Linked DNA regions of Homo sapiens: region 2 is linked to region 1. The links are contacts of gene promoters, found by promoter capture Hi-C in human tissues and cell types (Jung and others, 2019). All regions are on one chromosome and are shown on one strand. The core of a region is centred on a gene start or on the middle of the fragment in contact, and the rest is flanking DNA. Distances in the headings are between cores, read along the strand shown. Region 1 holds the start of PGF (placental growth factor). Region 2 has its middle 13 kb from the start of EIF2B2.

Region 1 (4,937 bases), core at 656-3,155:
GTGCTGGTGACTCCAGCCCACACCTCTCTAGTCTCTGGGTCACCATGAGGGGATCTCTTAGGCCCTGCCAAAGTCATCACCCAGCATGTCTAGCTTGTAGGCTCTCCCCAGCTTTTATCAACCTGCACCCACGCTTCATGCCACACCTGGGCTTGGGAGAAAGGAAGAGAGGGGCTTGGGGAGCATGCGTACCCCCAGCCTGGCCAGCTTACCTTCCACCTCTGACGAGCCGTTCCCAGCAGACAAGGCCCACTGCTATGGACAGAAAAGTGCAGAGGTGAGCTGGGGGTACCTTGGAGCTCTGCACTCTTGGGCCAAGTGTGATGGCAAGAAGGTAGGGGCCCCTCTGGGTTCCTTCCCACTTGCTGCACATGCTCTGCCCTGTCTCAGAGCAGCCTGAGTACCACTAAAAACTCACTGGACCCTGGGTAGGTTAGGTCCCACCCCTCTCTGGCCTCAGTTTTCCTCATTTGGAAAAGGATGGGAGGCTAGAAGCTTTTGGAGACCCTTGGCCTGCTGCATCCCAAAGATCTTCCAATCCTGCGGGTCTGCCTTCTACCCAGCCCCCAGGCCAACCCTGCTGGGCCCTGCACAGCCCGCCTTGGCTGGGTGCCAGAGCCCAGGGGGAGGTGATCAGCTGGTGGGAGCTGAGGGGCTGGAGCGGGTGGCGCCATGAGCTGGTGCAGCCGGTAACGTTACACCTCTGGCCAGCCCTGCAGCAGGCAGGCGGGTGGCTGGGCTGCTCGGACTCCTCAGGGACTGCCCAGCCCACTCCTACTCTTGGGCTGGGGCTGGGGACTCCCAGGGCAGTGGGACAACGCAGTGGGAAGGCAGTTCATTGGCTTTGTCAGGATTTCACTGCCCAAGCTGGCTCCCAGCCAGACTCACCCGGCTCCTGGGAAAAGGGCCCTGCTCACTTCCCCAGGCCCTGCACTCAGGACCTCCGGCCACCCACCCAGGAGAAAAGGCACAGCGAGACCCCTTGTCTCGTCCCCAGCCCACCCAGGAGCCCACGGCTCAGTCCTGAGCCCTGGTGGGGGCAGGGCCAGCCTCCCCACCAACAGCTTCTTCAGCTGGCTCCTCCGCCACCCCCACCAGGCCAGGTCAGAGGTCCTGGGGACGCCTGGTTGGCCATGGGGCCTCGACCCTGACCACAAGGCCAGGGACCCGCCTGGGATTAGTGGACAGATGCTTTTAGCAAAGCCACCAGGGCTCCAGGGGCCAGACAGGAAACCTCCCTCCCTCCCTCCCTCCCTGTGGCTTCCCTGCCCCCACCAAGACAGCCCCCAGGACCTGGGGGACAGCCAGCCTGAGGTCTCTTCCCAAACGAAAGAAGTCCAGCCTGGCCTTTAGGAAGTGTGTGGACATCCTTGGAGTTGCTGCTCCCTGGAGTGGGTCTGTGATTTCAGAGTCCCATGCTTCCAGTGCTGGGATGGGGAGGTCTGGGGAGCCAGGCTAGGTGGGGGTAGCTCTTACCTGGGGGGGCACAGCAGGCAGCGCCAGCCCGGCCAGGAGCTGCAGGAAGCAAGGGAACAGCCTCATGACCGGCATCTTCTCAGACGTCCCGAGCCAGGGGGCTCCGAGGGAAAACCACCATGCTCATCCCCCGGGGAGCCCCTGGCACAGGAGGAGAAGAGCTGAGTGGGGGGCTGGACGCCTCCCTCACTGCTGCCCCGAGGCCCCGGCCGGTGGTTCGAGCATCTTCTGGAAGCCTTGCGGAGTCAGGAGCCCGTAGGTAAGGCTGTGGCTGGGGAACCCGACGGGGAGCGGCCCGGCGGGGCGGGGCGCCGAGGGGCAGGCGGGTCCCGGGGATGGTCCGTCGGGCGCCCAGTGCCACTCCAGGTCCTCCCGTAGCTGGGCGGCCGTCCGTCGATGCAGTTTCCTCCGCAGACAGCAGCTCCCTTCTGAGACTGCAGCCGGTCCGCGCCTGGGTTTCAGGGACTGAGCCGGGGCGGGGCTCCGGGCCGGCCCCGCCCACCGCAGACGAGGTTCCCGAGCCGAGTTCCCGGAGCGCCCGGTCAGCCCGCAGCGCCCGGCCAGCCCGCAGCGCCGGAGCCCGCAGTGCGTGCGAGGGGCTCTCGGCAGGTCCAGACGCCTCGCCGAGCCCAGCCCGCAGCTCCCCGGGCCGCGCCGCGCCCGCCCACAGGGCCCACAGCCCTGCTTCGGCTCTCAGGGCGGTCACCTGGGATGGGGGCATCCAGGAGTCCAGCGTCAGCCGTCAAGGCTCATGATCTAACCGCCTCTGCAGGAAGGGCCGTCCGGGATGCCTGGGAAGGCAGCCATGCCCACACCCCTAGGGGGCCAAGGGATTCCTAGCCAGGTTATATAGATGAAGAAACCGAGGCTCCGAGAGCACCCCTGCCTGCATATGTCGAATGGACATAGGCATTCTTGGAAAGTGTGTGTGTGTTGTGTGTGTGCGCGCATCTGTGTGTCCGAGGAACTGGCAGAGACAAAACCCAAGCCTACGTGACTCCAGAACTCTAACCCGACCTACCACCCTCCTAGCCAGGCACGGACACAGTGGGCCTCCCACAGGAAACCTCTCAGGGCACCTGGCTGGAGGATCAGGCCTGTTGCCTCCTTGGGAAGCAGTCTTCCCAGGCCCTCCCTGCGGGGCAGCCCCCTGTGGTAGAGAGTGGTCTCACTCAGGCATCTCCTCCTGGTCCCTGGCCGAGGAGGAACTGTACGCTGCGCGGGGGTCTGTGTGCATCTGCGCGTGTGCATGGGCATTTGCGGGTCTGTGAATATCCATGAGCGGTGCATCTGAGCCTCTGTGTGGTCTGAGTACGTGTGACTACTGTACCTCCAAATACGCCTCTGTGTGGGGGTCAGGTCTCTCTGTATCTCTGTATGCTTGTGTGATCTGTTCGTGTCCGCTGTGTATCTGGGTGTGTTTGGAAGTGTCTGAATGTGTATCTTTCGGTGGGACTGTGAGTCTGCACGCCTGCCTGTCTCTGCGTGTGTGTGTCTGTCTCTGTGGGTGAAGACTGTGCCTCTCTCTCTGCGTTTGTGTGTGCCCTCCCTTGGTTCTGGATCTTTCTTTACCACCACTCCTCTCACTGCCTTCTGTGTCCAGCTCCCAGGCTGCAGGAACCTGGCAGGACTGGGAGTCACGAGTTGGCTGGGCCTGGGGCTGGTGGGTGGCTGTGGGGGAGGAGCGAGGCCTGGGAAGTGGCCCCTACAGCTCACATTCCAGCCAAGAGCAGGGAGGCCAGGGCAGCCCCAGCTCTCACCCCAGTGACCTCTGCGTCCACTGCCTGCCTGCCTGCCCACCCACGAGGGGCTGCCAGAGATGCAGCCTGCCTGCCTGGCCGGCCCTAAGCCTGGAGGTTCAGGAGGCGGGGGCCAGTCACCAGCTGGCTAAGCGGGGTCTGCAAGGAACATCCTGACGAGCTTCAAACAAGCTGGGGTTCGTGGGGTAGACAAACTGCTTCCTGGGCCCAGAATCATTGTGGAGGGTCACTGTGCATGTGTGTGAGGGTGAGTAGGTGTGTGTTTGTGCATATATGTATTGTATATGTTGCCCATAACATCTTTGTATACATACACGTGTTTGTGTGTGTCTTTAGTTTGGGTATGGATTTGTGTATGTGGGCACAGGTGTGTATTGTGCACAAGTGTGTGCGCGTGTGCTTAAGTATCTTCATTGTATATGCTTGTCTATAACTGAGTGTTTCTAGCACTTATGCATGGGATGTGTCTATTGTGTATGAGTTTGTATTTTTTTTTTTTTTTTCTGAGACAGAGTCTTGCTCTGTCGCCTAGGCTGGTAGACAGTGGCGCAATCTCGGCTCACTGCAACATCTGCCTCATGGGTTCAAGCGATTCTTGTGCCTCAGCCTCCCAAGTAGCTGGGATTGCAGGTGTACACCACCATGCCTGGCTAATTTTTGTATTTTTAGTAGAGACAGGTTTTTGTCATGTTGGCCAGACTGGTCGAGAACTCCTGGTCTCAAGTGATCCACCCACCTCAGTCTCCCAAAGTGCTGGGATTACAGGTGTGAGCCACCGCGCCCAGCCTGTATTCATTAATTTGTTTTTTCATTTGGCATGTATTGCCTGAGCCCTGCTATGCTCCAGGAACTGCTCTAGGTGCTAGGGATATGATATGGAGGGTCTCTCTGAGTTTACATTCATGGAGTAGGGGGATACCGATGGCTGGGGATGCCGAAGTTCTCTTTCCTGAGTGAACTCAACACCTTGGGCGAAGTCTGTGGTTCCCACAAGTGCACCTCAGTCCTTCATCACTAAATTGGGGACCATACCCTTCTAAACCCAGCTTCCTGGGCTGTGAGATGAATTAGCCTAGGGTAGGCTCAGCGGCAGAGACCAAGGAGACTCTAACATTTCCATGGATTGAATCAAAGTTTGTTCTTGCTCACATCCAGTCCAGAGCAGCTGTGCTAGTAATTCTGCTCCCTTGTTTTTTTTTTAAATTTTTGTAATTTTAATTTTAATTTTTAGAAACGAGGTCTTGCTCTCTCTCCCAGGCTACAGTGCACTGGTGTAGCACTGGCTATAGCTCACTGCAGCCTCCAATTCCTGGGCTCAAGGGATCCTCCCGCCTCAGCCTCCAGAATAACTGGGTCTACAGGTGTGTGCTACCATGCCCAGTTAATTTAAAAACTTTTTTTTTTTGGGGGTAAAGACAGGGTCTTGCCATCTTGCCCAGGCTGTGCTCCTTTGTACACTGGCCCCACTATTGACCAGCCACATCGCCTCAAGCAGCTTCCTTTGCTTTCAGAGCCCCAGCTTCCTCCATCTGTAGGAGTGGGAATGATAACAGTACTTACCTCATAGGGTTGTGCGAGGACTGAGAAAGCACCTTTGGTGCAAAGAATGGTAGCAATTGATCACGATTTCTAATTTAATTTTTGACTTGTATTAGAGAAATAAAAATACTACAGTTAGACCAGGTGCAGTGGCTCACGCCT
Region 2 (4,937 bases), core at 774-3,273, 33 kb after region 1:
AAAAGAGATAAGGAAAATGAAAGTCTCTAACCAAAAAGCAAAAATCCTCTAAAGTATAAGGGATGATCTGTTTATTAGTATTGAGTTTCTCCTTGTACAGGGCCTGTTTCCAGTATGCAATGTTGGTGCTTGGTATAAAGGTGCATAATAAATATTTGTTACATGTTAAATATGTTGATCTATGAAGAGCAACAATTAATACACAATCCTACTAACAATAGGGTAAGATTGTTTTTTTTTTTCTAATCACGTACCCTGGGTTCCACTACCTGTGTCTGTCATTAGACTTTCCCTTCAAATTCCTAGCAATTGGCCTGGCGCAGTGGCTCACGCCTGTAATGTTAGCACTTTGGGAGGCCGAGGCGGGTGAATCACCTGAAGTCAGGAGTTTGAGAACAGCCTGGCCAACATGTTGAAACCCCATCTCTACCAAAAATACAAAAATTAGCCGGGCGTGGTGGCGCGTGCCTGTAAATCCCAGATAGTCAAGAGGCTGAGCCAGGAGAATCACTGGAACCCAGGAGGCAGAGGTTGCAGTGAGCTGAGATTGCACCACTTCACTCCAGCCTGGGTGACGAGATCGAGACTCCTTCTCAAAAAAAACACACACACAAAAAAAACGATTCCTAGCAATTGATCATGATAAAGTGTCAGGGAAGCTCAAGAACAGAGCCAGATGCCACAAAATATAAATCTGTATTTAGAGCAAGATTAATTTCTTGTTTAGCAGAAGCAACCAAATAACACACTCCTCCCTTGACTGAAAATAGGCTTGGGCTCCTGGGAGGACACAAGAAGCTTAGGCAAGGCTCTAGCAACCCAAAAAGTTAAGCCAAAGGGGAATTTGTTGAGAAGTCCAAGGGTGGCTGTACCTTCAGCCATGGCTAGATCTAAGGGCCCATGTCAGCTCATCTCAAATCATCAGCTCATCTCAAATCATCAGCTCATTTGTTCTTTCTCCCTCTGTCTAGGACTGGGCTCTACTTGCTTCTCCTGGAGCAGCTGGCTGACTTTCTCCTACACTAGACAAGCTCTCCCCATGAGGCAGGAAAGGTAGCCACCGCTAGTCCAAAGCCAACCTCTTTACAGCAGATGAGGACAGAAACCTGCTTTCTTCCAGGGTCCATATAGCAAATCACAGGACTGAATGGCTTTGCATGACCAATCAGCGTGGAAGTTGGATGATGGACCAGTCCCAGGTGTGGGGGGCCAGGCCTGTGGTTAGGGGCCACTTGGGGCACGAGGAGGTGCTGGGATTGACAGTTCCACCCAAATCACATGAGATGAGGAAGGGCAGTTCCCAACGGAAAGCGGGTGCAGGGCAGACAAAAACAACAGGTGTCTACTACAATAGCACTTGTTCTCAGGTTGCATAGAGACATGACTTATCCACCAAAACAATCAGAGAAGGATAAAAACAGTAGTGCATTCACATGCCCAAGTGTTGAGTCAAAGGCCTTCAGGAAAAGGAAGTGATCCTATGGCCTAAAGGAGATTCTTTGGAACAGAAGGATAAAGACACAAACATTTTAGTAAGCCTTGCTGCCCCCAGTTCAGAATTATCATCATAATCACCGTATTCTCCAAATTAAGTCCAGGAAACTGTTATTTGATAATTATGCAGACAATCAGCCATAATGTTTGGAATTGGGACATTTCTGGAAAATCTGGAAGATTTGATCAACATAATCATATTTCTGGCTGAAAGAATGGGCCTGATGGATTTCTTATGTTTCTTACAAATAACTTTTACTTCTCATTATGAACGGCATATGTTAACTGTAGAAATTTTGGAAAATACAGAACAGTACACAAATAAAAATAAAAATCATTCTTGCATTTTATTAGAGTTGGGTGTGACTGCAAGTGATGGAAACTCCTAGATAACTGTGGAAGTTAAACAAGACTGAAGTTTATTTAGCTCTCAGCTGTATGAAGCCCAGAGGTGAATATTCCAGGCTGGTATGGGAGCTCCACTCCGCAGAGACCTCAGAGTGTGCAGGCTCCTTCTGGCTCACTCCTCTGCCATCCCTACAGTAGGACCTGTATCCTCATCACCTAAGCTGGCAGAGCAGAAATGCAGCAAGAAAGAGAAAGTCATGAAGAGGCCAAAGACCCATCCCAGCTATCTCCTAGGGAAGGTTCTCAAAAGCAGCAACAAAATGTTAATACTTCCACACCTTCCCATTGGTAAGAACATAGGCACATGGCCACATCTACCTGTGAAGGAGACTGGGAAATGTAGTTTCTATTCTGGGTGGCTATTTTCCCAGCTAAAACTCTATTACTATAGGAGGGGAGAGTGGCTTTGGGAGCAATTGTCTCTGATAAACCTGTAATCGTACTATCCAGAGATAGTCACTGTTAATGTCATAGTATATGTCATTATACACACTTCACACACACACACCTATATACATATATATGTATGTGTAAGAATATGTGTATTGTGTATATTTATATATATATAATACATACAAATAAAGTATATTTTTAGAGTGAAATTGAGGTCCCACCAAATATACTATTTTTACATCCTGCTTTAAAAAAATTATAGACTTTAGGCCGGGCACGGTGGCTCATGCCTGTAATCCCAGCACTTTGGGAGGCCGAGGCGGGTGGATCACGAGGTCAGGAGTTCAAGACCAGCCTGGCCAAGATGGTGAAACCCCGTCTCTACTAAAAATTCAAAAATTAGCCAGCCGTGGTGGCAAGCACCTGTAATCCCAGCTACTCAGGAAGCTGAGGCAGAGAATTGCTTAAACCCAGGAGGCGGACGTTGCAGTGAGCCGAGATTGCACCACTGCACTCCAGCCTGAGTGACAGAGCAAGACTCTGTCTTAAAAAAAATACATATAGAGAGAGACTTTAAACAGCCTCTTTCAAGATCTATTTTAGCATTGTGTCATTTAACAATTACAGCTAGAGTTACTTTAAAAATTCACTGGGCACAGTGGCTCACGCTTGTAATCCCCGTGCTTTGGGAGGCCAAGATGGGAGGATCTCTTGAAGCCAGGAGATCAAGACCAGCCTGGGGAACATAGCAAGATCCTGTCTGCACAAAAAAAAAAAAAAAAAAAAAAAAAAAAAAAAATTAGCCAGATGTGGTGGCCCACACCTGTAGCTGTAGTCCTCACTACTTGGGAGGCTGAAGGGGGAGGATCAGTTTGAGGCTACAGTAAGCTATGATTGGACCCCTGCACCCCAGCCTGGGCGACACAGTAACCCTGTCTCTTAAAAAAAAATGACCATCCCCCAAATGTAATGCTTTATAATTTTATAATTTTCTTTTAAATAGATGTTTTTATTTCATAAATCCTGGTTTTGTTTGTTTAACTATTTATTTTGAAATAATTGTAGATTCACAGGAGGTTGCAAATAAATGTATATCCTTCTCTCTCTTGCATCCTTCCCCCCAGACTACTCCAATGCTAACATTTTATACAACCATGACACAATGTCAAAACCAAGAAAATGACATTGGTACAATCCACAGAGCTTATTCAGATTTCATACATGCATTCCGTGTGTGTGTGTGTGTGTGTGTGTGTATATGCACAATTTTATCACAGGTAGTCTTGCATAACCACCACCACAATCAAGAAACCCAAGTGTACTATTAATATCACAAGATTCCTAGTGTTACTCCTTTGTAGCCACACATCCCACCCATCTGTAACTCCTGGAAGCCACTAATCTATTCTTTATTTCTATAATTATGTTATTTCATGATTGTTACATAAGTAAAGTTATGCAGTATGTACACTTTTTTTTTTTTTTGAGACAGGGTCTTGCTCTGTTACCCAGGCTGGAGTACAGTGGCGTGATCTCAGCTCACTGTGACCTCTGCCTCCCGGGTTCAAGTGATTCTTGTGCCTCAGCCTCCTGAGTAGCTGGGATTACAGGCATGTGCCACCATGCCTGGCTAATTTTTTTTTTTGTATTTTTAGTAGAAACGGGGTTTCGTCATGTTGCCCAGGCTGGTCTTGAACTCCTGGGCTCAAGTGATCTGCCTGTCCCAACATGCCAAAGTGCTGGGATTACAGGCGTGAGCCACCACTCTTGGCCTATACTTTTGAGATGGGTTTTTTTCACTCAGCATAATTTCCTTGAGGTTAGTCTAAGTTGTTGGATATATCGATATTTCATTCCTTTCTATTACCGAGCTGTATTCCATGGTATGGATGTACAGTTTGTGTAAACATTCACCAGTTGGAAGACATTGGGTAGTTTCCAGTTGTTGGCTATTATGAATAAAGCTGCCATGAACATTCACCTGCAAGTTCCTATGTAGACGTTCTTCATTTCTCTGGGATAAATCACCAAAAATACAATTGCTGGGTTGTATTATAAGTTCATTATTAGTTTTGAAAGGGACTGCCCAACTATTTTCAAGAGTGATTGTGTGCAATCCGCCTTTTAAAACTGATAATACGGCCGGGCGTGGTGGCTCACGCCTGTAATCCCAGCACTTTGGGAGGCCAAGGCAGGCGGATCATGAGGTCAAGAGATGGAGACCATCCTGGCCAACATGATGAAACCTCATCTCTATGAAAAATACAAAAATCAGCTGGGCGTGGTGGTGCGCACCTGTAGTCCCGGCTACTCGGGAGGCTGAGGCAGGAGAATTGCTTGAACCCAGGAGGCAGAGGTTACAGTGAGCCTAGAGCCTAGATCGTGCCACTGCACTCCAGCCTGGTGACAGAGCAAGAGTCCATCTCAAAAAAAAATAAATAAATAAAAATAGAAAATAAACAAAACTGACAATATGTTATCAACAGTTCTCCTTATTGTTAAGCATTTACCATATCAAAATTCCAAAAATCGATATTCCATTGTATGACTGTACTATAACATTCTTTTGTTTTGAAAATAATTATATAACAAATACGCAATCATAATTTCCATTTCAGTTTTGAAGAATCACAAAGATACAT

Evidence for each region. Contacts are between HindIII fragments. The study calls those that stand out against the background at their distance.
Region 2: a fragment that was not itself captured here is called in contact with the fragment with the promoter of PGF in region 1 in 2 of the 25 tissues and cell types used here (IMR-90 fibroblasts and liver).

Annotation. Positions count from the first base shown.
Region 1 is chr14:74,953,692-74,958,628 of GRCh38, forward strand. It overlaps PGF (placental growth factor), which reads right to left and starts at 1,906. Exons shown (of 7, transcript NM_002632.6): 1 at 1,477-1,906; 2 at 213-255. The coding sequence starts at 1,551. RefSeq lists silencers at 1,703-1,772, 1,953-2,052. The HindIII fragment of the contact is 10,779 bases long and covers 1-4,937 here.
Region 2 is chr14:74,986,984-74,991,920 of GRCh38, forward strand. No RefSeq gene overlaps it. Among named protein-coding and RNA genes, the nearest start is that of EIF2B2, 13 kb to the right of the region's middle. The HindIII fragment of the contact is 5,864 bases long and covers 1-4,937 here.